Regions from separate parts of the Homo sapiens genome. Here all the other regions are linked to region 2. Evidence: promoter capture Hi-C in human tissues and cell types (Jung and others, 2019). All regions are on one chromosome and are shown on one strand. The core of a region is centred on a gene start or on the middle of the fragment in contact, and the rest is flanking DNA. Distances in the headings are between cores, read along the strand shown.

Region 1 (3,589 bases), core at 138-2,637, 600 kb before region 2:
TGGTAAAGCCTGGTTACTTTGGGGATAAATTTGGCTTTGAAAGTAAACCTGATGCTTTGTGCTTTGGTAGATATTTAACTTCTGTTCTCTTTCATACACAAGAGTTACTCCTTTGCTTTGAGTAGAAAACCATTAGAAAACCAGGGTAGAACTTTTGGCAATTATCCAGTTTAGTAATTGGGCCAAATAGTTCTAATCTCACCACAACCACTACTTCTTAGAAAATGATCTCTTTAAACAAAACATGGAACATCTCTGAGGATGAAAACCTAAGGGAAGGAATAGTTGGAGATCCCCAAATATACTCATATAGATTCCCCCCATTCTTTTTCCTATTTATGGGTGTTCAAGCCTTGGAGAGATGTGTGTGTGTTGATCACATAGGATCTTTTACCTACATGACCTAAGTATATTCCGTTGTGGCCTTTGGTCTATTTTTTTTATACATCTCAAATGTTATCTTTTAATAGGTCATAATGAATTTGTGGTGGAGTAAAGGCCCAACATTCCCTGTACAAGTAAAGGCAAACCATAGCGCCAGTAACCCTTTACTAGTTTATAAGTAAAGGCTATCTCTGTTAGCCTGAATTCCTTGAGGGCAGGGATGGTCTGATTGATTTTCCATCCTCAATGATAAGTAAAGATATTGGCACATACTTCGTTACGTGATGGTTACCTATTTGTCGAATGAGGTAGCATGGTGTAGTAGATTAAAGGCTCCAGAGTTTGACAGACTGAGTTAGTATGGCACTGACACTTGTTGAACCACGTTTTAACCTTTCTGAGCTTTAGGATCAGCTTTCGTTGTGAGAATCAAAGACATTGTACTCTTAAATTCCTGTTAGTGGCTATTATTTTTTCTCCATTGATTCTTTATTTTGAAATAATTTCACATTACAGAAAAGTTACCAGAGCAGCTAACAACCCACAAAACACCCCAAACTCCTGGATTTTCTTCACTCGGATTCCCCAGTTGTTAATATTTCACTGCATCTGCTTCATTGCTCACTCTGTGTGTTTGTGTGTGGGGTTTGTGTACATACATACCCTTTTTCATTGTGCCTTTTCTGAGCTTTTTTTGAGAGCAAGCTGCAGATGTGATATTCCTTCACTCCCAAACACTTCAATGTGTATTCCCCGAAATAGGACTTTCCTATATAACTGGCAGAGATCTCCAAATCAGGAAATCAATATTAGTACAACGCGACCATCCATCCACAGACTTCGTTAACATTTTGCCAGCTGTCCCAGCAATGTCTTTTTCCTTTTTGGTCCGGTATCTTGTCTAGGAATATGCGTTGCATTTAGTTGCATGTCGCCTCAGACCTCTTCAGCCTGGAACAGTTTCTCAGTCTTTACCTTTCTTTCATGTCCTTGACATTTTGAAGAGTCTAGATCTGGGTCCATCTGTTTCTTCATGACAGCAGTAATATCATTTTCGGCAGGAATACCACTGCAATGATGCTATGCTCTTCTCATTGCATCATATCTGGAGGCAAATGCTGTCCCCCGCATCCCACTGTCAGTAATATTGTTAACCTTGAACAGCTGGTTAAGCTGATGTCTGCCAGGTTTCTCCACATCAGATTCATCATTTTTCCTTTTGTAATTGATTATTGTCTTGTGGAAAGGTATTCTGAAATTATACTACTATCCTGTTCCTCAACAGATATATACCTAACCTCCTTAGCGCTATTGACTACTCTTTCCTGAACCAACCAGTTTTATTCTGTCAAATGCTAGTCCTCTATTTCTGTGTCTGCCTGTATTTGTTAGATGTCATTCTGTTACAAAGACTTTCCCTTTTTCATTTGTTTATTTCTATCAAATGGACTCATGGATTACTATTTTATTCAGTGGGCTGTAGTCCATTTCTATAATTATACTCCTCAAGCTTGAGGGAGCTTGAAAGTTTAGCCAGTGGGACCTGCTTTATGCTGGTTTCTTTGTCCTTTTGACCTGTCCCCATCATTCATGGGACATTTCCTTATTTTCTGCCACAAGAAGGTTTTCCAAGTTTATTTTGTACTTTTCCTACCAAAGCCTTGGAATCAGCCATTTCCAAGAAGCTCTGGTTCTTTTAAATGGAGGATAGTAATTAGAAACCAACATCTGGGTGGTGGGTATGCATATTGCTACTAGAGTGTCCTTGCCTCTAGGCTGTCTCAGCAAACAGCTAGAAATTGTGTGTATGTGTACATACATATGTACATAAACACATATATACCACATATACATCTATATTTCCATATCTCTTTGTGCTATATACGTATATATACATGCATGATGTTTGTGTGTGTGTTACATATTTTAAATTATAAAACAATGCATTTTATATTATAAAATCATGAATTCACACTGATAACTCCATTAAATGCAGCCAACCTCTTTCCATATTTGTAAATATATTCTCCAGTAGGGAAAAACTTGGCTCCCCTTATCCCCAATATGTTTACTTATTTGCTCAGTGTAGCCAGTTTTCCAACCGCGATGGCTGACTCCACCACCTCTGTACCCTACTCCTCATGTTCTGGAATCCTCAGTCAATGGGCTCCTTTGGCCCATTCTTCCTTGTGGCTTCCTAATCTCCCTAGAGTTTCCCAGCTTTACCTGTAGTCTTCCAGTGCCCCCTGACCCCCAACCACTCTTATCTTTGGCCTCTGGGCCTGCTGTCCTGTGCATCCTTGATTCCTCAGCTGCTCACCTACCTGTGTCCTTGGCTGCTGTGCTAACTCCTCTGTGACGGAAGGGGGACAGGGCTTTTTTTTTTTTTGAGGGGGATTTTATACGTATACACATATGTATATGTGTGTGTGTGCATGTATATATATATATATATATATATATATATATATATATATAGTTCATTCAGGTATAATTTACATGCAGTAAAATTCATTCTTTTAAGGCTACATTTCTATGAATTTTGACAAATGTAATATAGACATGTAACCACTACCACAATCAAGATATAAAATGCGTCCATTACCGTAGAAAGTTTCTTCAGGCTCTTTCACAGTTAGTTCTCTCTTCGCATCCGCAGCCACTGGCATCACTGATCAGATTTCTGTTCCTATGATTTTGCCATTTCTAAAATGTTATATAAATGGAATCATGTATTATGTAGCTTTTTGAGTATGGCTTCTTTCACTTAGTGTAATTCTTTTGAGATTCGTCTGTACTGTTTTAGGTATTAGTAATGCATTCCTTTTTTGCTGTTGAGTAGCTTCATTTCTCTTGGGTAAATACCTAAGGTTGGGAATGCTGCAGGGTCATATAAGTGTATATGAAGTGTTTAAGTGTATGAGAAACTGCCAAACTGTTTCCCAAAGTGGCTGTACCACTTTGGATTCCTGTCAGCAATGAATATATCTACATTCTTTCCACTATTTGGTATTGTCCGTTGTTTTTTTAAAAAATGAGAGTCCTTCTGATAGGTATATAATGGATATCTCTTCGTGGCTTCAATTTGTATTTTCCTAAATATTAATGATGTTTAGCATCTTTCATTTGCATATTTGTCAGTCATATCTCTTTGATGATGGGTCTGTTTAAATGTTTTGCACATTTTTTTAAAATGAGTGGTTCA
Region 2 (3,854 bases), core at 689-3,188:
ACCTGTGGGCAGGCCTTCAAGAGACTCCCATCCTCATTCAGGCCACGTTCTCAATCGCTTTAAGATGCAGCCTTGTGGCTGGGCACGGTGGCTCACGCCTGTAATCCCAGCGCTTTGGGAGGCCAAGGCAGGTGGATCACCTGAGGTCAGGAGTTCGAGACCAGCCTGGCAAACATGGTGAAACCCCGTCTCTACTAAAAATACAAAAATTAGCCGGGCATGGTGGCAGGTGCCTGTAATCCCAGCAATTATGCCTGTAATTGCTTGAATCCCGGAGGCAGAGGTTGCAGTGAGCTGAGATCACACCACTGCACTCCAGACTTGGTGACAGAGAGACTCCATCTCAAAAAAAGAAAAAAAAAGAAAAAAAGGGCCAGGCATGGTGGCTCACGCCTGTAATCCTAGCACTTTGGGAGGCTGAGGCGGGCAGATCACCTGAGGCCAGGAGTTTGAGCCCAGCCTGGCCAACATGGTGAAACCCTATCTCTACTAAAAATACAAAAAAAAAAAAAAAAATAGCCGGGCATGGTAGTGGGCGCCTGTAATCCCAACTACTTGGGAGGCTGAGGCAGGAGAATCGCTTGAACCCAGGAGGCAGAGGTTGCAGTGAGCCGAGATCGCGCCACTGCACTCCAGCCTGGGCAACAGAGCAACACTCCATCTCAAAAAAAGAAAAGCAAAAAAGCAAAAAAACAAAAAAACAAAAAACAAAAAACAAATTCAGGCTGGGCATGGTGGCTCTCGCAGCTTTGTAAACACTCTTCAGTCATTAAAACACTAAATAATACAGTCCCCCAAACCAAGGGGGAAATCCTGGTACAGGTAGTTCGCAGTGGAGAGGAGGAGGAGGTACAGCATAACCCAGGAAGAAGCAGCAGCCCCATGAACCGGCATCTCCAAGTTTGTAATTGCTTTGATTGGCTTTTAGACCCAATATTTAATTCAGTTATTTTGTTAAAGTTCCAGATGCAAATCTCATGACCCCCTATCATGTTATGCTCATCATGAAGGCGTCAGGGTTAAAAAGCCTGAGAAAGTCTGCTTTAGTCAAAGAAAAAGTCTTTCTGGGAGTATTTCTGTCATGGGTCCGTATCCCTGCCTCCCCACAGAATTGTCATTTTTCCCTTTTCTCCTGCCCTGCTTCCCTGTTCTACAACACAGCTGGTCAAAGTCTCAGGAGAAATGGCACATGTCTGTAAGTCCCAGCTACTCTGGAGGCTGAGGTGGGAGGATGCTTAAGCCCAGGAGTTAAAAAAAAAAATACTAACAAATTATTGAAAGAAGGGAATGAGTGAGACCTGGAGGTGGGCAGACCAAGGTTCAAGGCCCAGTTCTGACACCAGCTAACTGAGCACTCTTGGGCATGTCGCCTCCCTGAACTGGGCTATCTGTGAGACATGGAACACCGCAGCCAGGGTGATGTCTGGCTCAGGTCCTCCGTAGCTAGTGAGGGACAGATGCCACCAAGAGAACCAAGCATGCTCCCCCAGGCTGGCAGAGCCCCAGAGATCTAGATTCAGCAGAGAGCAACTCCAAACACACCTCGAAAGTAGGATTAAAAAAAAAATTGGCTACCTCAAAGACTGGATACTCTAGGGACACTCCCATCTTGGTCACCAACCGCATACCAGGGTGCCAGGCATGTAAATTACCGTTCCTCCCTCCAACTACCCTACGGGCACAGGCAGGATCAGAACCCCGCACCTCCTGACTCCAGAGCCCAAGTTTCTGGCTCCTGGGCTCTGTCGCTGTGTGGCAGTGTCCCGGGGTGGGGCTAGGACGCAAGCAGGGTTGGGAGAGAAAGGCGCCCGTCCCGCGTCCCGCGCCCCGCGCTTGCCTGTCGGGTTGCGGACGCTCCATCCGGCCGGTGCTGGGCTCGTTCGTGCTGGCTCCGCGGGCGGCGGCTGCGCTGAGGACGCTCGAGAGGAGGCAGGCGTTGACTGCCGGAGCCGCGGCCGGTCACATTTATGCTCGGCGGGTCACGTGGGCCAGGCGGAACAGCTGATGCCCACTTTCTGGCCGGGCGTTGCAACACCCGCAGGGGCCCGCGCCCAGCCCGCCCCGGGCCAGTGTGGGGTGGAGAGGAGCAGTCATATGACCCTTGGGAAACAAAGTCTGGCCATAGGACTTTTAGAGAAAACACACACACACACACACACACACACACATACACACACACACACACACACACACACACACAAAACCTTTAAGGAAATCTGAGAAGCTGCAGGCTCTGGGTGTGATTTTGCTCCTTCCAGAGCCCCCCCTTCTGCTCCCTGTCCCCTTGGGACTTGATGCACCCCAGGCGTCCCAGAAGGTTCCAGAAAGCTGGGAGGCAGCGCTGCTCAGAGCAATAGCCTGGTGGGCAACATCAGGAACTTAGCAACCCCAGGCTCTGCTGTCTCCAGCTCCCTAAAATGTCACCTGCTGGAATCCTCTGCTGACTGCTTGCCTCCTCACACCCTCTTTAAATGTACATTTAGGATCTGTTTTTTGAGTTCCTGTCAAAAAACAGAGACTCTAGTATTTTCATGGTTCATCCCTACAACTGACCTGTGAGGGTAGATCGCTTCTATTTTACAGATGGGGAAACCGAGGCTCAGAGGGGTGCAGTGGTGTCACACATAAAGCAGGATGCCAGTGTCCAAACCCAGGGAGGAGACTAAGTCCCCGCCTGCCTCCTCCACACTCTGGCAGCACCTGGTATCCGCCTGGACTGGGACACCTGTCATACAAACTGCTTCCCTGCTGGAATGCGTGGGACACTCTTCCAGGCACATTCAGGTCTGACTTATACTCAGTGCCTGCTCAGGGCCCAGAGCAGAGCTGGCCCTTGCTGATCGCCTATTGAATCAATTCTGCATGAGGTGGACTCCTTAGAACTCGGGGGAAATAGGGTCACTGGGTGAACCCAGAGGACAAAACGAATGGACCAGATGATTCATACAGTCCTTTCCCAATACTGTGATTCTCATTCTAAGATTTTTTTTTTAAGATGGCTTTCAGGCCTGGCATGGTAGCTCACACCTGTAGTCCCAGTACTTTGGGAGGTTGAGGTGGGAAGAGCGCTTTGAGCCCAGTCGAGGTGGGAAGATTGCTTTGAGTTCGAGACTGGCCTGGGCAACATAGGGAGACCCTGTCTCTACAAAATATAAAATAAATTAGCTGGGCATGGTGGCACATGCCTGTGGTCCCAGCTACTTGGGAGGCTGAGGCTGGAGGTTCACTTGAGCCTGGGATGTAGAGGCTGGAGTGAGCTGTGACCACGCTACTGTATTCTAACCTGGGCAACAGAACAAGACGCTGTCCCTCAAAAAAAAAAAAAAACAAAAAAAAAAAAAAAAAACTTCCTGGAATTCAGCCTAGGGCCACTACAGCCCAGAGGCACTTCTGAGATTGTATTGGAAAGGATCATCCTCCCAAGGGTGAGCTAAGGGGCCTTGAAAAAAATTCCCCTTCTTCCTCTGAAGGTTCCCCGAAAACCAACCGACAAAAGTCAGGTTAAGAGGAGAAAAGACATACAAAAATGTATTGTAATGGGGTAATCACGGAAGAATGGTGACCCTGTAACCCAGTGGAGTACAGAGGCTACCCAGCCTTTTTTATAGGGGAGAAGGGAGATAGGGAATGCAGACAATTCTTTTGAAAGACAGTAAATCATTAGCAAGAAGGAATGGCCCTGGAGGTGAAAGGCCGACTTTAAGGGAAGGTGGAGGTGGAGCCGCACAGGGACAAAGGTTGTCCTAGGCAGATAAAGTCCCCCAGGTAATCTCTTGGCACTGTCCTCAGAAGAACAGGTAAATCTGTCTGGGTCTGGTGATGACTCCCAGTCTCTTTCTCTCTCCAGTGGTTGA
Region 3 (3,886 bases), core at 1,201-3,700, 820 kb before region 2:
GTGACCTGGAGCCCGGTCTGTCCTTATGGTCTGGCCACAACCAGGCTGGCCCCGGGGTGCGGCTGCTGAGGCCTGATGAGGCAAGAGATTTCTTTTGAGATACAAGGAACCTAGAGGTCATCTCACCCACCCTGAGTCTGAGCACCTACTTGTGCCAGGCCCTGTGGGGAAACTGAGGCCCTGGGAGGGGAGTGACTTGCCCAGGGTCCAGTGTCAGGAGGCTGAGCAGGTAGATCATAGGACTCCATGTCTGTGGCCCTCACCTCTGTCCCTCTGTTCAGACCTCTGGGGTGATGGAGAAGAAACAGGCTGTGCTGTGTCCCTAATGGGAAACTGTAGGGAGACCCCCTGAAACTATTGCTACGGAATAAAAGATGAAATGCTCCTGATTATTGTAAATACAAAATTGCATGCAGGATTGTGTAAAGACAATGCCAGGTTGGACTGCCAGAACGAACCAACAGCACGTGATGTGCTTCCCCCTGCAGAGAGCCTATGAATGGATGCAGGGGGGCGCCTGTCCATATGGACAAGCTAGGGCTATAAATGCTATCATCTTGCCGTGGCTCTTCTAGGCATCTTTAGGGTTCAGGTATACTCCCTTCTGAGAATTTCTAGTCTAACCGGTTATCTAGCTTCACGTCCTGTTTCCATGGATTGTCAGTAACCAGCTTTTGTTGCAATTGTTACTGCTGATTAATATCTTGCTAATCATAGGTTATGGAAAGATTGTGTTTCTGTTTTAAGGCTCTGTTAGAAATTACTGACGCACACACTATATTGTAAATTCTTATCTCTGTATACTGTACTTCTACATACAAATGCACTGTACTTCTACATACGAATGTTATGTTAAAGAATTACTTCATCCCCATGTGACCATCCCACCTCGTAATCAAATGACCCTAAATCCCTCACTAACCTACCCCCGCCCTCACTAAACTGAATAATAAATGCTGGTATATCCAGTGCATTGTTGACCAGAAGGCGGTGACCCCCCTGGACCCAGCTTTCACTATCTTGTGTGTGTCTATTATTTCTCAACCTGCCGATCCGCCTAGGAGCAAAGAGAGAGCCCCGTTGCACTGGGGGCTGCTGGCCAGATCCCGCAATAGGAAACATGGCTGAGACAGGGGAGTGAGAAGGTCGCATTGCAGAATGGTGCCTGTGGCATGACGCCAGCTTTGTAATCATGAGATTCAAAAGCCACCTGTGGAATTGTGAGTGTAACTACAGGAGTGAGAGCTTAGATCTCTGTGTTTGTAGAAGCAGAATCAAACCTGGACACTGTTGGATTACTAAAATCACCCGTTTTTCTTCAATAGCAGAGTCACAAGGGCAGATGTTGGCTTCCCGTCTGCTCTCCAAGAGCTGTGCGACTCTGGGCAAGTCACCTCCCCTCCCAGCCTAAGATTTTCCCCTCTCAGAAACCTGATAGAGCTGCCAAAAGTCCATGAAATCAGGGGGGTAATTTCTGTGAAATCTGAGTCGTGGTCTTATTTTTCTTTTTCTTTTTTTTTTTTTCTTTTTTCTGAGATGGAGTCTCGCTCTGTTGCCCAGGCTGGAGTGCAGTGGCGCAATCTCTGCTCACTGCAAGCTCCGCCTCCCGGGTTCACACCATTCTCCTGCCTCAGCCTCCCGAGTAGCTGGGACTACAGGCGCCCGCCACTACACTCGGCTAATTTTTGTATTTTTAGTAGAGATGGGGTTTCACCATGTTAGCCAGGATGGTCTCCATCTCCTGACCTTGTGATCTGCCTGCCTCGGCCTCCCAAAGTGCTGGGATTACAGGCGTGAGCCACCGCTCCCGGCCTGATTTTTCTTCACCAAAAAGAGATGCCCATCAAGATAGAAAGCACTATAGCTGAAGCCTGTAATCCCAGTGCTGTGGGAGGCAGAGGCGGGAAGATCACTTGAGGCCAGGAGTTCAAGACAGCCTGAGAAACACAGGAGATGCTGTCTCTATGAAATCAAAAATTAACAAATTAGCCCAGCATGGTAGCGTGCACCTGTAGTCCCAGCTACTCAGAAGGTTGAAGGAGGAAGATCACTTGAGCCCAGCAGATCTAGGCAGCAATGAGCTAGGATGGCGTCAAAGCCCTGCAGCCTGGGTGACACAGCAAAACGGTTTATTAAAAATGAAATGAAAATGGTGATTTCTCAGGAGGAGCACACTGTCTCAACCCCTCTTTTCCTGCCCAAGGAGGAGGCCCCGCAGCGACATGGAGGGAGCTGCTTTGCTGAAAATCTTTGTCGTCTGCATCTGGTGAGCTTGGCTCAGAGCCCTGAGGTGGGAGGGAGGGCTCCCTGTCTGGGCTGCACAATTGGGCAGGGCTTGGGCTGGGCCAGGAGCCATGTGGGTTTTTCTAGGAACCAAAATCACTTCCCGGAATTGACCAACTGGTAGACTCGCCTAGAGGGGACGCACTGTGTCCTAGTTGAGGCTAACAGTCAGTATCCAGCCTCAACATTCAGCAGAGGCCCCAGATCAGCGTCTGAGCCAGGCCAACAATGACCAAGGAGGATGGGATCCTGGGTGCAGCTCATCACAAGCGTCGGGTGAGTCCGAGGCCCCAGCTCTCTGCCCTCCTGCTCCTCTGCTCTCTCCTGGTCCTCCCAGTTCTACTGGCTCATGGTGTTGAGATGGTTGCCTTGGCCTAGGGGGTCACACAGTGAACAAAGCAGGAAGAAGGCGAAGGGATGCCCCTCTCCTGTCACCCCTGTCCCTTACAGCAAGAAGCGCCCAGACGCCCCTCTGCATACTCCCCTGGTGAATGCTGCCCAGGACTGGGTCCCCCTTTTACCCTTGTTGCATGGGGGCCCCAGAAGACAGACATCTGTGTGTCTGAACCCTGAGACAAAGGCAGGAAAGGGAAAGAGGGAGGCGAGTGGCTTTTGAGGAGGGGGCTTTAGTATGAGAGCTGGAGGATGGAACCCCATCAGGGGGCCCGGGAACCACTGAGCTGTTAAAATAAAGTCTGCAAACAAAGACCAGCTGCTGGAAGTGGGTGTGCCAGGGAGTGCGCAGAGACACACGGTGAGAAAAGAACAATGGTAATGCTTGGAGCCGCCCCTAACTGGGATGGGCCTGAAATGGTATTGTTATTATTTATAGTATCATTATTAGTCATTTTCATCTTATTTGTACCCTCCCTCTATCTCTCCTCTCCACCTTTTCCTAACATTCTATCACCAGTTTTATGTCTTCCATTAGCAACTTTGTAGCTGTAAACAATTTACTTACAACTTTCTTATACCCTCAGTTGTACCCAGTATTTCTTAACTTCCATCTTTAAAAAATGACAATATTAATCCTCCTTCTCCTTTGTTCAGTGCTTCACATCTCAACTGCTACCTTCGTGCCTTAAAGTTTGTACTAATTGGTATTGATAACAAGATATTTAGTTCTCAAATTTACATGTTGTGTATATATTTTTTGTCCTGATAAAGAGACTACTGAGAGCCAGTAAGACTGAAAGAATGGGCATCTTCATATACTGCTAGTTTGAGTGTGAATTGGTACAATTTGCATGTAGTGTGGCTCTAGGTATAAAACATTTTGAGATGTTGATACCCTCTGACCTAGTCATTCTACTCCTACAAATATCTTAAGGAAATAAAATCAAATGTGGGCAGTTTTACGTGAAGGAGGGTGTTCTTTGTAGCATAATTTACATGAAGAATTAGAAACACCCTAAGGTCCATCAGCTAGGGGAGGACAGCAGAGGGAACAGGGCAGCGCCAGGAGGGCTCGGCAGCCACAGCAGGGGCTAGGCCGGCATCTGGCAGGATCCAGGTCTTTGTGGGACAAAGGATCTTAGAGAAGCAAGGGGGACACAGGCTGTCCACTGCAGCACCAGTGAATTCACCAAGACGAAAAGTTGAG
Region 4 (3,856 bases), core at 28-2,527, 760 kb before region 2:
CCTGGGCTAGTTTTCTCTGGCAGGCACACCTCCTCCAGGCAGCCCCCTCTGCTGAACTTGAGAATGTCCCTCTCAGCAGTCCAGGAGGAATATTTCCTCCAAGTCCTTCGCTGGCAGTGAGTGACCTCAGGCTGAGGGGAGAGGAAGCCCACAAGGGCAGGGTCAGTTCTGCCATCTACTGGTGATGGGAGCTTTGCAAGCTACTTGACTACTTTCTGCCTTCCTTTCTTCATCCATTGAGCTTTATTGTGAGAAAAATAAGCTAATGCATGTAAAGTATTTAGCATAATGACTGACACATGGTAGGTGCTCCGTTAATGTTACCTTTTAAAAAGATTGCTGGGGAGAGACCAGGACCAAAAGTGTTTTTCTTTTTTTTTCTTTTTTTTTCTTTTTTTTTTTTTTTTGAGACAGAGTCTTGCTTGTCCCCCAGGCTGGAGTGCAGTGGCATGATCTCGGCCCACCGCAACCTCCGCCTCCCGGTTTCACGCCATTCTCCTGCCCCAGCCTCCCAAGTAGCTGGGACTACAGGCTCCGGCCACCGCATCCGGCTATTTTTTTTTGTATTTTTAGTACAGACGGGGTTTCATCGTGTTAGCCAGGATGGTCTTGATCTCCTGACCTCGTGATCCTCCCGCCTCGGCCTCCCAAGGTGCTGGGATTACAGGCATGAGCCGCTGCGCCCGACCAAGTGTTTTTCTTAGAGTTGGATGCCCAGCAGGACTTTCTTTGAAAAAAGCCAGAAAAATCTTGACCTGATCAATGTGTGTTCCTGGAGATGCTGTCCGGGGCCCTTTTCTTCCACCTCTGAGGAACTGCACAAACACAGCAGGATCCTCCTGCTGACACAGAACACAGAGAGGCTGGAATGGAGTTGGACAGAGCTGGGGGTGGATCTTGGCTCTGTCCCTGCACAGCTCTGGGGCTGTTGTTTTATGTCTTGGAGACTGGGACCTGCCATCTCTCCAATGCTAATAGTAGTTCAATCAGATGGGCGTGTGGTTAAAGCCTGAGAATGAACAGCAGGTCAGAGGTGGGGAACCAAGTAGCATGATGCCATCCAAAGACCCAGAGAGACGTTTCAGGGGCAGAGCCAGGGGTCAGGATGGGGCAGGGGTGGGCCTGGGTTGGAGGAGCAGCAGGAAGGCTCGGGCACCAAGGCTGGGAGTAGGGTGAGAAGAGGGAGGCACTGAGGGCATGAAAGGTAACGTGGCCATGGACTTGCAGAGGACCAGTGAGTGGGAGAGGGATATTTCTTCCCTCCCTGATTTGATCCCATCACTGATGGGCATAGTGGGCCATGGGTGACTGTTTCCCTGACAGCATGCCTGGGAACTGGGGCATTCTGAACTGCCATTTGGGACCCTCTTCTGTTCTACATAGAGTAGAGGAAGTGTTTCTTCGGGCCAGCTTGGAGAGTTGGAACAAGTGTCTGCCAACTGGGTAATTTGAAGGGTTCTCAGGAGACTCACAAGTCCCCAACCAAAGAGAAAAACACTTTCTCTATCATCTTGTCCAAATGCAGGTCTTTTCAGCATTAGTGATTTATAGAGATGATTTTCAAAGTCTCATGAGTCCATAAGAGGTTCCATGAAATTGCACATGGCATTGGCATGCACACAGGTGAAGCTGTCACCTGCTAAGGCATTAGTTTGGCTGGTGACATGTGACAGTGAGACCCTGAAGCTTGGAGGTGCCAGGTCAGGAGGCCGTCAAGTGGCTTGAGAGTTCATGTGCAGCCAGGACTAATAGCCAGGCCTTTCACTTTTCAGTCAAAGGGGGCAGTGGCTGGACCCAGTGGCCTTCAGTCAGAAGATCAAAGGGCATGTGGCATTGGAAGAGAGAACATGCCAGGCAAGGTGATCTCTTCCAGTCTGAGGTTTTATTTGATAGCTTAAGGACTCAGAGTTAGTCAAAATGCAATGTCTGAAGGCACCCTTCCTTCTGACACCAGTTGCAGATTTGAAGGTGTTTCTTAAGCCCCCACTCAGGTTTGATAATTCACTACAAAGACTTACGTAACTCACTGATAACTGTTATTGCACGATTGTGGTTTATCACAGGGAAAGAACACAGATTAAAATCAGCCTAAGGAAGAGACACACAGGGCAGAGTCTGGGAGGGTTTCAGGTGTGAAGCTTCGTTGTCCTCAGGACGCTGTGTTCTCCTGTGTGAATGTGGGACAAAACACATGGGGTGTTGCCAACCAGAGAAGCTCACCCAGTTAAGGAAAAATTCCTGTGAATCACATTAGATCAGGAAGCCTTTATTCAGGATTGTGTTACAGGGGAGGGAGACTGAGCCCAGCTCCCAATATAGTAAAGACAGAGGGGGAGTCACAGCCAACACCAGGGTGAGGAGTGGGAGATGGACCAGTTCTGACTGGAGACACCAGAATGGGGGGTTTCTGCTAAACTGGCCTAACAAGCTGCTCAACTAAAGGCAGGTAAGGAGCGGGTGAAGACCGTGATCAGACAGCAAGAATGCTCAGACAGCAAGTGGGGAGGACCCTCCCTAACTGCCTTGGGGGATTCTTGCTGAACTGGGGCAGTACAGGCCCAGCAAGCACGGGATGGGCATGGAAGGTCAGCGCCTAGAGGAGAAAAGGCTCAGAGCAGCCTGACTGGAGTTTGGCCAAGGAGAAAGTCTTTCTCAACCTATGCCTCAATGTACAGAGCTCTTTCTGGGGCTGGATCACAAGCTGTCCTGATGGCTGACATGGAGTCCCCAGCCCCTCCCTGAGGTCTAACACCCTTAGTTCCCAGTTCCTTTGGAAGGCAGAAAAGATACGTAATAGCCCCAAAACCCATCACCCATAACATTGCTATACTGTGCTGTAGCCAAACCACCAGGGAAACAAAGATGTTCCTACCAGGCAGGACATTCCAGGGCCCCAGAGATCCCTTCCCAGGGCCCAAAGACAAAAGAACGACCTCTCTTCTAATAAAGTTAATCCTTCACTGTTCTATGATCCTCTGAATGAAGGTCTTTTTGCTCCGAACCCACTTCTCTTTGTTCATCTACAAAATTTCCCCTCTCCACACACTATTGGAGGGATGATGTTGACCTCTCTTGCTTGAGGAGCCATCTTTATCGAATACCTACCACTAAAGAGCATCTGAAGATGACTTTAAGTTTTTTATTCCCATACAGAATAAGTACTGTGGCATATCTATGATATACAAAACATGTTTAACCTTGGAAAAATTATTTTAAATTTTTCCATTTAAAATTTAAAGCTTTATTTCCATTTGACTCATAGTAATAGCTCTGTGATTTATGTAGAACAGATCTTATTGAGCTGATTTTACAGATAAGTAAGCTGCCTTTCTTAATCATCTGTCCTTTATTGGTACAGGGATGAGGCAGATGCTCTCTACGAAGCTCTGAAGAAGCTTAGAACATATGCAGCTATTGAGGACGAATATGTGCAGCAGAAAGATGAGCAGTTTAGGGAATGGTTTTTGAAAGAGTTTCCCCAAGTCAAGAGGAAGATCCAGGAGTCCATAGAAAAGCTTCGTGCCCTTGCAAATGGTATTGAAGAGGTCCACAGAGGCTGCACCATCTCCAATGTGGTGTCCAGCTCCACTGGCGCTGCCTCTGGCATCATGTCCCTTGCTGGTCTTGTTTTGGCACCATTTACAGCAGGGACGAGTCTGGCCCTTACTGCAGCTGGGGTAGGGCTGGGAGCAGCGTCTGCTGTGACTGGGATCACCACCAGCATCGTGGAGCACTCATACACATCATCAGCAGAAGCTGAAGCCAGCAGGCTGACTGCAACCAGCATTGACCGATTGAAGGTATTTAAGGAAGTTATGCGTGACATCACACCCAACTTACTTTCCCTTCTTAATAA
Region 5 (3,742 bases), core at 1,210-3,709, 870 kb before region 2:
CCCGGGTTCAAGTGATTCTCCTGCCTCAGCCTCCCAAGTAGCTGGGACTACAGGCACGCACCACCAAGCCCAGCTAATTTTTGTATTTTTAGTACAGACAGCGTTTCACCATCTTGGCCAGCATGGTCTCGATCTCTTGGCGTTGTGATCTGCCTGCCTCGGCCTCCGAAAGCGCTGGGATTACAGGCGTGAGCCACTGCGCCTGGCCGTTCTTCAACATCTTTTGGACAAAACACTGTAGAAGCAAATGAGTCTCTGGTCACGAGTTTGGTCTGAATTCTATTGTAGCAGGACGAGCTGCAGACAAAACCTCTCAGACACCGAGTAGTAGAAGGAAGGGCTTTATTCAGCTGGGAGCATCGGCAAGCTACTGCCTTAAAATCCGAGCTCCCTGAGTGCACAATTTCTGTCCCTTTTAAGGGCTCACAACACTAAAGATTTCACACGAAAGGGTCATGATTGATTTGAGCAAGCAGGCGGTACGTGACAGGGGCTGCATACACAGGTCGTCAGGGGGGAACAGAACAGGGCAGGGAGTTTCACAATGTTCTTCTACATAATGTAAGGAATCTATGAATAACATCGGCTTCTGAATCATAAGTTGATTTTTAACTAATGGGTTTAGGCCAGGCGGGCCCAGGCCTGGTTTCGGGCCTGGCGCCGGGCTGCCTGTCTTTGGTTTTACTTCCTTGTTGTTTTTTCTTAAAACAGGTACTGAGTACAAAACAATATAAAAATAATATGAGAGGGTCTTTCTCTTCCTTCACTATAACACAGTTTTCAAGCTTCAGTTTGCAGGACTTTAAGAAAAGCACAGTTTGGATTTCTGGTGATTCCAAGTCAGAAAAATGAGAGAAAAAGAAAAGCAAAATATTAGTTTGGAGACTTGTGGCCAGGAAAGAATTCAGTATGTAGTCCAGATAAACTGTGGACAAACAATACGGCTAGAAAACAATGGAGAAAGCTAGAATCCAATAACAGGCATTCTCTAGTTTCTTTTGAAACATACCTTTTCTCTCTCTAGTCCTGTATTTCTACCAAAGACAAATCATAGTAGGGCTAATTTATTTGCAACAGAAGTTTTAGTCTGATGGTTCTTGGCCTGATCATTTGTATAAAGTGCAGCAAGAATACTTATTTGGCATATGGGCTCCTTTTGGAAATTGACTTTGCTACAATATTTTCTTTTTCATAAGATATCTCAGAGTAGGCCTTTTAAAATCTCAAGCTCAGCCAGTGATTTATATTTGCCTGCAGATGCCTATATATATTAGGTGAGTTCCTTTCTCCTCAAGGTCCCAAGGTAACTTGGGCTTCCTGGGCCTGTCAGAAAGTGACATTCTTTACTTACCACAGGACAGGAACCCTGTAAAGGAACTGTATAGGCAAAGTTTGAGGAAAATTTTTCAAAGAGGCTTTCATCGGCTCTATAAGCCAGCCACCATTACTCAAAGCAGCCTACGTACATGTGGAAATATGCCATGCCAGTCAAAGCCTTGGTAAAATAACCAGTGTCTCTAGTTGTGTCCTGTTATGAAAGAAAACAGATTCCAACTGAACTTATGCAAATAACTCTATTGCCATGAACTAAGAATACTCACAAATAGTTTCCAAATTCTGGAGAAATCAGATAGTGAGAAAGAAATATGCTTCAAATTTTGCTCACAAGAGTATACTTTATTCAATTGTTAAAAGCTACATGGAGCCCAAAGGGAAAAAGAAGTTTTCTTGACTAAGAAAAACAAAACAAAAGAATCAGTCGTATATTAAACAAAAAGTCATTAAAAATTTATTTTTGTTCTCCATTAATTCATTCCCATGTAATAACCTTCTTCCACTTGATATTGGGTTAGCAATCTTCATGACCACATCAACTTTTGAATTACAGTCCTGGAAGATTTATTTTTTTCTTAGTCCGATGGCACAATCTGTAGCTGATCATAAACTGTTTTTTGAGATGTAAAGTAAACACTTTTTGCAGATAACAAAAGTATGAGAACAGCATTGGTAAAGACACATTCGACAAGGAAATTACTTTATTTCTGTGGCAAACAACTACTTAACATAATAATAATAATAGTTTCTGATAACATATGCCAAGACATATTAGACCTATAGAATCTCGTACAATTTTGGAACACATATTAATAACACATTTATATAAACATAATCCAAAGAATGTTAAACACCGTTTTATATTTGTCATGCTGGACCCCTATGCTAATGAGCTGACAGGACACAGACTTGGAGAGACAGAAGAAAAGACCTGGAGACAGCAGGTGAGACATAAGCTTTATTCAGGGAGCTTATGTACAGGTTGCCCAGGAGCAGCAGGCAAGACAAGAAATCCCCTCCTGTTTGTCAAATGCATGCAGGTTATATGATATTCTTCCCAGAGCAACCTCCACTTAGCACCTCTGCCAGGAAACCTCCACCTAGCCCAAAACAAAAGGTCTTGATTCCTTGCACAACCTCTGATCCAAGGAACAGAGTTCTTCATAAGTATGATGTAAACATCTGGATTGGCCATTCCCGGGATCCATACCTTGGAACACTGAGCAAAAATTCACCAAGGAATGTAGGGTTATTCTTAGGGGATGCTTCAGTTATTGCTGTCTGACGGGACATGCCCACCATGCTCTCCACACCCCTGCATAGCCTTGAATGGCCCTCACAATCTCATCACACTGTTTTTCTGTGATTTTCCTGGGGCCAGTTTTGTGGAAGAGCATTGCAGCCAGACACCCCAGCAGCAACACTAACCTCAACAAAGGATTATGAACGCAATTGCAATTACGCTAGATACAAAGTTTCTCCACGTGTCTGGGAGTTGATTAAACCATGAGGTGATAAGATCATAAGACAAAGACTCTGTGGCTGGACTCTGGGTATCTAACGTCAGCAGAGCCTGTGTTATGTTATGAGAGTAATGAGGGCTATATACACAACATTTTGTTTTAATTAATGCACAAGCTCCACCATGGGCAGCAGTTGTATGATTTTGGGTCATACGATTTTGCAGAGGAACATGCCTGATCTGGGTGGTTTCTTGATTGGGAAGTGTAAAACGATGGTGAGTATCATTGAAGGCTGCAGCTGTGTGTTTAGCCAGCACACGAATTGCAGCTCTGCATTTACAGTTGCCACTTTGGAGGCAAAGATGGCCAAGGGGTAGAACCACCAGTATGCACATATCTGGTAATCTCTAGCTTTTACCGTTTTCCAGTTACTGGGGGTCGTGTCTAAATGGGGAACTATATACTGTGGCAATTAAGGATGCCCTGAGATGCATCTGCCAGTCCAGTTGAATGGCAAATAAGGCCAAGGGTGGGTGACACAGGCCCACAGCCATCTCCATCTCCATGGGGATTGGTAGGCACCCATATGCAGAGACTTATTCTACCAACCCAGCCATGTATCATTGCTTAACCCAAGGGCTTGGTGACATTGTTGTACAGGTAGTCACCCCATATTGTGGGGTTAGCCGGTGATGTGCTGTCATTGTGTCTACCAATACACAGTTGCACAACTGACTACCTGTATTTGTACTATGGTTGTTCTGTCTGCTGTTATAGCTAAGGTGCAAGTTTACCCATGCCCCACTGCACCAAAGCAATTGCAAACCTTCCCCGGCCTCTGGGAATAGAATCTTCACTGCACTACAATTGCGCAGTGAAGAATTAACTTTATCCCAGGAGAGGTCTTCCCATTGTCCCCTACCCCTGCGAAGTGATCTCCAGGC
Region 6 (3,569 bases), core at 529-3,028, 740 kb before region 2:
GGCTTATTCCTGTAATCCCAGCACTTTGGGAGGCCTGGGCGGGCGGATCGCTTGAGGTCAGGACCAGCGTGGCCAACATGATGAAACCCCGTCTGTACTAAAAATACAGAAATTAGCCGGGCGTGGTGGTGCGCGCCTGTAATCTCAACTACTCGGGAGGCTGAAGCAGGAGAATCGCTTGAACCCGGGAGGCAAGTCAGCCGAGATTTTGCCGAGGCGCAATCAGCCCAGATCATGCCACTGCACTCCAGCCTGGGTGACAGAGCAAGACTCCGTCTCAAAAAAACAAACAGAAAAAAAACACAGCGTCCAGGCAGCTCCACCTTCCATGTTGAAAGCCTGTGACTGCCACATTCTAGCGGGACTGGCTTGTTTGCCTGCAGAACGGAATGGCCCCGGGGTCTGTCTGGGTCTGGGTCCAGATGAGAAAGGCGCCCAGCCTTCCTCTGGCCCCAGCCCTGCACATTGACCAAGGATGGATGGCCCTCCATACCAGGCACCCCGGCTCCTCCTCATTCCCCTCTGGCTTCTCCCTTCCTCCTACCGCCATGCTGATCCTCCATCCTTCTGGCTCTGGGCAGTGGTTTTCAAAAGCACTGTGGTGGTAGTCACTGGGGCTGTTGGCCACATTTGTCTGGCTTTTCCCCTTTCCAGATGCACAGTGGGATTATTCTTCCTGGTCTCCTTATGGTTGGGTGGGAATATGTAACCAGTTCTGGACAAAAGAGTTTTGAATGGAAATAATATGTGTCATTTCTAAGCCACAGCAATGAATGCTGATATAAGACCCTTTTCCTCTACTGTGGCAACCAGCAATCTTCCAGAAAGTGGTTGCTCCATGATACTGAGTCCAGGAGGGAAGACAACCGGAGCAGAGAGGCACCTGCCCCATGATGGACATGTAGCGTGAGCAAGAAGTAGCCTTTGCTGTTGTGAACCACTGAGATCGGGGGCTTGCTTTTTGGTGGTTTTTGTTTGTTTGTTTGGTTTGTTTTTTTGTTTTGTTTAGTTTTGTTTTGTTTTTTGAGACAGAGTTTCGCTCTAGTAGCCCAGGCTGGAGTGCAATGGCGCGATCTTGGCTCACTGCAAGCTCCACCTCCCAGGTTCAAGCGATTCTCCTGCCTCAGCCTCCCAACTAGCTAGGACTACAGGCATGCACCACCATGCCCGGCTAATTTTGAATTTTTAATAGAGACAGGGGTTCACCACGTTGGTCAGGCTGGTCTCAAACTCCTGACCTCAGGTGATCCGCCCGCCTCGGCCTCCCAAAGTGCTGGGATTACAGGCGTGAGCCACCGTGCCCAGCCTAGGGGCTTGTTTTTTACTGCAGCATAACCTAGACTATCCTGGCTGATATAAGCAAAGCTGCTGGAAATCAGGAAGCTGTTTGTAGAACACTATGAAAGGTACACAGCTTTAAATCCTTAGATGAACTAGAATTGTTATTAACAATGAGTATCACTTATTGACCAGGCGTGGTGGCTCACAACTGTAATCTCAGCACTTTGGGAGGCTGAGGCAGGCGGATCACCTGAGGTCAGGAGTTCAAGACCAGCCTGGCCAACATGGTGAAACCCTGTCTTTACTAAAAATATAAAAATTAGCCAGGTGTGGTGGCACACGCCTGTTATCCCAGCTACTCGGGAGGCCCAGGCAGGAGAATCATTTGAACCCAGGAGGTAGAGGTTGCAGTAAGTCGAAATCACGCCTCTGCACTCTAGCCTGGGTGACAGAGTAAGACTCGGTCTCAAAAAAATAAAATAAATAAAATAAAAAAATAAATCAATGAGTATCACTTATTGAGCACCTACTACGTGTCAGGTATTACACAAGGTATACTAGGTTTTTTGGCAAATGTTTTCTCATTAATCCCCATCCTAGCACTGGGATTTGGCAATACTGGCCTATTCGGTATGATTAGTCTGAGGCAGTGAAACTCAGGGAAACGGACTCAAGGTCATGACCATAGCCTCTAAGTGGTCTTAATATAGCCTCTAAGTCATGACCATAGCCTCTAAGTGGAATTGAGATTCAAATGTAAGGATCTCTGTCACCCAAACTCTCATTCTTTCCACTCCTAGGCTGTTATCATATAAAAAGCAGGACTAGGCATAGTAAGGGGAAAAAAAAAACAAACATTTTAAAAAGAAATTATCTCTTAACAGGAAAAACATTAACATCTGCCATTTTTCTAAATTGAATGTGAAAGATGATCCTGACAGGCTGAACAAAGATGCTTGCTCTCTGTTGTGATGTTTGACAAGGGAATCTTCCTTCATTTTCTCCTCTGATGAGCCTCTCTACCAGATAAGCAGCAGCAGGAACCAAACGTTTAAGAAAAATGTAAAGACATTATTTTGTCCATCACTTAACATTTTTATGAACAAGTTGGGAGGTAGCCTGCATGAATGCCTCTGTGCAATGGAATGAATGGCCGGAGATCTCACCATCCCAGGATGACTTTGGGGAAGGAAGACCCAAACAGCCCACTATCACATGCTGTCCTGCCTGCCTCAGGCCTCCTGTCCTTCTCTCCCTTGTGACCTGCAAACTAACCTTGAGGACTCATGTCAACTGTCACTGCATTGGAAGCCCTCTGTGATAGTTAATATTGAGTGTCAACTTGATTGGATTGAAGGATGCAAAGTATTGTTCCTGGGTGTGTCTGTGAGGGTGTGGCCAAAGGAGATTAACATTTGAATCAGTGGCCTGGGAGAGGCAGACGCACCCTCAATCTGGGTGGGCACCATCTAATCAGCTGCCAACACGGCTAGAATTAAGCAGGCAGAAGAACTTGGAAGGACTAGACTTGCTGAGTCTTCCAGCCTTCACTCCCTTCCATGGTCTTTCTCCCGTGCTGGATGCTTCCTGCCCTTGAACATCAGACTCCAAGTTCTTCAGCTTTTGGACTCTTGGACTTACACCAGTGGTTTGCCAGGGGCTCTCAGGCCTCCGGCCACAGACTAAAAGCTGCGCTGTCAGCTTCCCTACTTTTGAGGTTTTGAGACTCTGGCTGGCTTCTTTGCTAATCAGCTTGAAAACAGCCTGTTGTGGGACTTCACCTTGTGTTCGTGTGAGTCAATACTCCTTAATAAACTCCCCTGCATATATACATCTATCCTATTAGCTCTGTCTCTCTGGAGAACCCTGACTAATACAACCTCCCTTTCCTGCCAGGCTGGGCTCCTGTCTGCCTCATTCTCTTGCCCTGTTGCCCAGGCTAGAGTATAGTGGCACCATCATTGCTCACTGCAGCCTCGACCTCTCAGTCTCAAGTGATTTTCCTGCCTCAGCCTCTGCAGTAGCTAGGACTACAGGCATACGCCACCATGCCCAGCTGAATTTTTTAATTTTTTGTAGAGATGGGGTCTTGCTGGTTGGCCAGGCTGGTCTTGAACTCCTGGCCTCAATCGATCCTCCCACCTTGGTCTCCCAAAGCTCTGGGATTACAGGCATGAACCACCGTACCTGGCCTCATTCTGTTTTTTTAAATTAACATTTTTATTTGCATTTGTACAAAGTAATCCAGAGAGATCCCATGTACCCTTTACTCAGTTTCCGTTAATAGT
Region 7 (3,782 bases), core at 136-2,635, 700 kb before region 2:
TTTTCCTGGCTTTCTCACCATCTCTCATCTCTGCTTCACTCTAGGCTGACCTAATTTTCTCCCACTGCAAATAGTTTCTTCCTTCCAGTTTAACAACCCCAGGGCAAAAGAGAGTTGCTCTTTCCCCCGAGTCATTGTATCAATGCCAGGGAACATTCTGACTGGCGCTGTTTTTGTCATAGGCTTCCCTCTGAATCAATCACTGTGGTCAGGGAAATGGAATACAGTGGCGTTTCAGTCTCAGTTACTTATCTACCCAGTAAATACGAGAGGGTTGGCTTTATTACTGACAGATGTATGAGGCCTCTCTGTTTTGGGGAGGGGCAGATATAAAGGTTCTGGACAGTCAAAAACCAGGGCTGTCTCTATATGCAAAAGGCCCAAGGTATATAATGAGAGGGACATTGTCAAATGAGCTAGGGTTGCGTAGGGTCCTTCCAACAAGTGAGGAATAATAAATGCTGTCTCTCTATCATGTATTTTCTGTACACCCACTGTATTAGTCTGTTTTCACACTGCTGATAAAGACATACCCGATTGGGAGGCTGAGGTGGGTGGATCACTTGAGATCAGGAGTTCAAGACCAGCCTGGCCAACATGGCGAAACCCCGGTCTCTACTGAAAATGCAAAAATTAGCCAGCTGTGGTGGCACGTGCCTGTAATCCCAGCTACTCGGGAAGTTGAGGCAGGAGAATTGCTTGAACCTGGGAGGTAGAGGTTGAAGTGAGCCAAGATCATGCCACTGCACTCCAGCCTGGCGACAGAGTGAGACTGTGTCTCAAAAATAAACAAACAAACAAAGAAACAAATAAATAAATAAATAAATAAGACATAACCGAGACTGGGCAATTTACCAAAAAAAACAAAGAGGTTTGATGGACTTACAGTTCCACAGGGCTGGGGAGGCCTCACAATCATGGCAGAAGGCAAGGAGGAGCAAGTCACATTTTACGTGGATAGCAGCAGGCAAAGAGAGAGAGAGCTTGTGCAGGGGAACTCCTCTTTATAAAACTGTCAGATCTCATGAGACTTATTCACGATCAGATCACGAGAACAGCACGGGAAAGACTTGACCCCATGATTCAATTACCTCCCACCAGGTCCCTCTCATAATACGTGAGAATTCAAGATGAGATTTGGGTGGGGACACAGCCAAACCATGTCACCCACCACATTTTCAACCCCTTCCTATATTTGAGAAATGTCCGGCCCTGTGGGCCCCATCTCCCCATGGTGAAATCCAGAAATGTTGGCTTCCCAGGCTTCCTTGAAGCTCGGGCACTGACATGTGATCCAGTCCCACCAAGCAGGCAAGTCCCACCAAAACGAGGAAAAGGAAGTGTGAACTCAAGAAGGAGGCTCTGTGTGGTGAGAGTGGCGGCAGGATGCTCAGCTTTAGAGTGAAATCCTGGGTGCAGAAATGTCTCACAGGAGCAGCGGCAGTGGTAGCATTTTGCTTATCCCGCAGCAGTGGTGGGATCTTGCTTAACAGCTGTTTCTGTGGCTATCTGGGGGGAATTGATCCTGGAAGCTTTGCCTACAACCAGGTCCTCCAGCCCCTCAAAAATTCTGTGAGCTGGGCACAATGGCTCACCCTTGTAATCTCAGCACGTTGGGAGGCCAAGGCAGGAGGATCACTTGAGCCCGGGAGGTTGAGACCAGCCTGGGCAACACAGCAAGATCCCATCTCTACTGAAAATAAAAAAAAACTAGCCAGGTATGATGGTGCACGCCTCTAGTCCCAGCTTCTCGGGAGGCTGAGGTGGGAGAATTGCTTGGCCCTGCTCACACCTTTGCACTCCAGCCTGGAAGACAGAGTGAGACCCTGTTTCAAAAAAGAAACAAAATTCTGTGAGCTAACATCCTTTTCTGCTTAATCAGCCCGTAGGTACTTCTGTTCCTTGCCACAAAGAGCCCTGATTAATGAATGCTGTAATTCTCCTCGGCAGGTACCAGGTGGAAGAGCTTTCCTGGAGGGGCAGTTTTCCTCACTTGCTGGGGGATCGGAGGGGCGGGGGGAACTGCAGGCAGCCCTGGGGAATGCTGTCAAATTGCCTTCTACCCTAGCCCCAGGCCCAGGATCTTGTACCAAGTTCCTAGGGAGAGGGTGACTGACATGAAGACAACACTAAATCAGATAAAAAAAGCAATATGACTGGATGTACATGAATGACCTCTCATGATGTATGTTTCTATTTTTATTGAGACAAATTTCACAAACATAAAATTAGCCATTTCAAAATGTACTGTTCAGACGGGGCACAGTGGCTCATGTCTGTAATCCCAGCACTTTGGGAGGCCAAGGTGGGTGGATCGTTTGAGGCCAGGAGTTCGAAACCAGCCTGGCCAACATGGTGAGACCCCATCTCTACTAAAAATACAAAACTTAGCCAGGCGTGGTGGCACACACCTGTAGTCCCAGCTACTGAGGAGGCTGAAGCAGGAGGATCACTTGAACCGGGGGAGTGGAGGTTGCAGTGAGCTGAGATTGCGCCACTGCACTCCCAGCTGGATGGCAGAGTGCAATTTGTGCTCTAACATAAAATGATATCAAAAAACTCGTAGCATTCTCCACCTCATGCCAGAGACCTTGTCTCAAAATTTTTTAAAAAATGCGCTATTCAGTGGTATTTTTTCATTCACAATGTTATTTATGCAAGCATAATATCTATCTGGTTTCAAAACGTTTTCATCACCCCCAAAATAGACCCCATATCCATTGAGCGGTCACTCCCCCGTTCCCCCCTCTCCTTAGTCCCTAACAACCACTGATCTGCATTCTCTCTATATAGATTTACCTATTCTGGATATTACATATAAAGGGAATCATTTAATAAGTGACATTTTGTGTCTGAGTTCTTTCACTGAACATGTTTTCAGAATTCATCTACATTGTAGCCTGTATCAGTACATCATTCCTTTTTTTTTTTTTTTGAGACGGGGTTTCACTCTTGTTGTCCAGGCTAGAGTGCAATGGCACGATTTCAGCTCACTGCAACCTCCGCCTCCTGGGTTCAAGTGATTCTCCTGCCTCAGCCTCCCAGGTAGCTGGGATTACAAGCGCCTGCCACAACGCCTGGCTAATGTGTTGTATTTTTAGTAGAGACGGGTTTTCACCATGTTGGCCAGGCTGGTCTTGAACGCCTGACCTCAGGTGATCCACCCGCGTCCGCCTCCCAAAGTGCTGGGATTGCAGGTGTGAGCCACCACACCCAGCCCATTCCTTTATTGTTTAATTTAATTAATTTATTTTTTGAGACAGGATCTCTCTCTGTTGCCCAGGCTAGAATGCAGTGACATGATCATGGCTCACTGCAGACTCAACCTCCTGGGCTCAAGTAATTCTCCCACCTCAGCCTCCTGAGTAGCTGGGACTAAAGGCACATGCCACTACACCCAGCTAATATATATATACACACATATATATATATATATATATATATACACTTTTATATATATACACTTTTATATATATATACTTTTATATATATACACTTTTATATATATATACTTATATATATACACTTTTATATATATACTTATATATATACACTTTTATATATATACTTATATATATACACTTTTATATATATATACTTTTATATATATACTTATATATATATACTTTTATATATATACTTTTATATATATATACTTTTATATATATATACTTTTATATATTATATACTTTTATATATATACACACACTTTTTTTTTTGTAGAGGTAGGGTTTCATCATGTTGCCCAGGCTGGCCTCAAGTGATCCTTCTACCTCGGCCTC

Evidence for each region. Contacts are between HindIII fragments. The study calls those that stand out against the background at their distance.
Region 1: a contact is called between a fragment that was not itself captured here and the fragment with the promoter of HMOX1 in region 2, in 2 of the 25 tissues and cell types used here (H1 embryonic stem cells and mesenchymal stem cells).
Region 3: the fragment with the promoter of APOL4 here is called in contact with the fragment with the promoter of HMOX1 in region 2 in 3 of the 25 tissues and cell types used here (dorsolateral prefrontal cortex, mesendoderm cells and small bowel).
Region 4: a contact is called between a fragment that was not itself captured here and the fragment with the promoter of HMOX1 in region 2, in 6 of the 25 tissues and cell types used here (IMR-90 fibroblasts, dorsolateral prefrontal cortex, heart left ventricle and 3 more).
Region 5: a contact is called between a fragment that was not itself captured here and the fragment with the promoter of HMOX1 in region 2, in 5 of the 25 tissues and cell types used here (dorsolateral prefrontal cortex, heart left ventricle, hippocampus and 2 more).
Region 6: a contact is called between a fragment that was not itself captured here and the fragment with the promoter of HMOX1 in region 2, in 1 of the 25 tissues and cell types used here (dorsolateral prefrontal cortex).
Region 7: a fragment that was not itself captured here is called in contact with the fragment with the promoter of HMOX1 in region 2 in 3 of the 25 tissues and cell types used here (aorta, bladder and dorsolateral prefrontal cortex).

The regions. Positions count from the first base shown.
Region 1 is chr22:35,976,996-35,980,584 of GRCh38, reverse strand. The region is part of intron 1 of RBFOX2 (RNA binding fox-1 homolog 2); the gene reads left to right. Among named protein-coding and RNA genes, the nearest start is that of RBFOX2, 50 kb to the left of the region's middle. The HindIII fragment of the contact is 4,397 bases long and covers 1-3,585 here.
Region 2 is chr22:35,379,180-35,383,033 of GRCh38, reverse strand. It overlaps HMOX1 (heme oxygenase 1), which reads right to left and starts at 1,938. Exons shown (of 5, transcript NM_002133.3): 1 at 1,838-1,938. The coding sequence starts at 1,860. RefSeq lists silencers at 1,668-1,837, 2,138-2,217. The HindIII fragment of the contact is 25,740 bases long and covers 1-3,854 here.
Region 3 is chr22:36,200,373-36,204,258 of GRCh38, reverse strand. It overlaps APOL4 (apolipoprotein L4), which reads left to right and starts at 2,450. Exons shown (of 4, transcript NM_001386885.1): 1 at 2,450-2,559. The coding sequence starts at 2,525. RefSeq lists an enhancer at 1,975-2,474. The HindIII fragment of the contact is 28,208 bases long and covers 1-3,886 here.
Region 4 is chr22:36,141,561-36,145,416 of GRCh38, reverse strand. APOL3 (apolipoprotein L3) reads left to right here. Exons shown (of 4, transcript NM_145639.2): 4 at 3,359-3,856. Among named protein-coding and RNA genes, the nearest start is that of APOL3, 17 kb to the left of the region's middle. RefSeq lists an enhancer at 3,463-3,856. The HindIII fragment of the contact is 7,006 bases long and covers 1-3,856 here.
Region 5 is chr22:36,247,260-36,251,001 of GRCh38, reverse strand. No RefSeq gene overlaps it. Among named protein-coding and RNA genes, the nearest start is that of APOL1, 4.0 kb to the left of the region's middle. The HindIII fragment of the contact is 5,646 bases long and covers 1-3,742 here.
Region 6 is chr22:36,120,292-36,123,860 of GRCh38, reverse strand. No RefSeq gene overlaps it. Among named protein-coding and RNA genes, the nearest start is that of APOL3, 39 kb to the left of the region's middle. The HindIII fragment of the contact is 9,372 bases long and covers 1-3,569 here.
Region 7 is chr22:36,073,799-36,077,580 of GRCh38, reverse strand. No RefSeq gene overlaps it. Among named protein-coding and RNA genes, the nearest start is that of RBFOX2, 47 kb to the right of the region's middle. The HindIII fragment of the contact is 4,053 bases long and covers 1-3,411 here.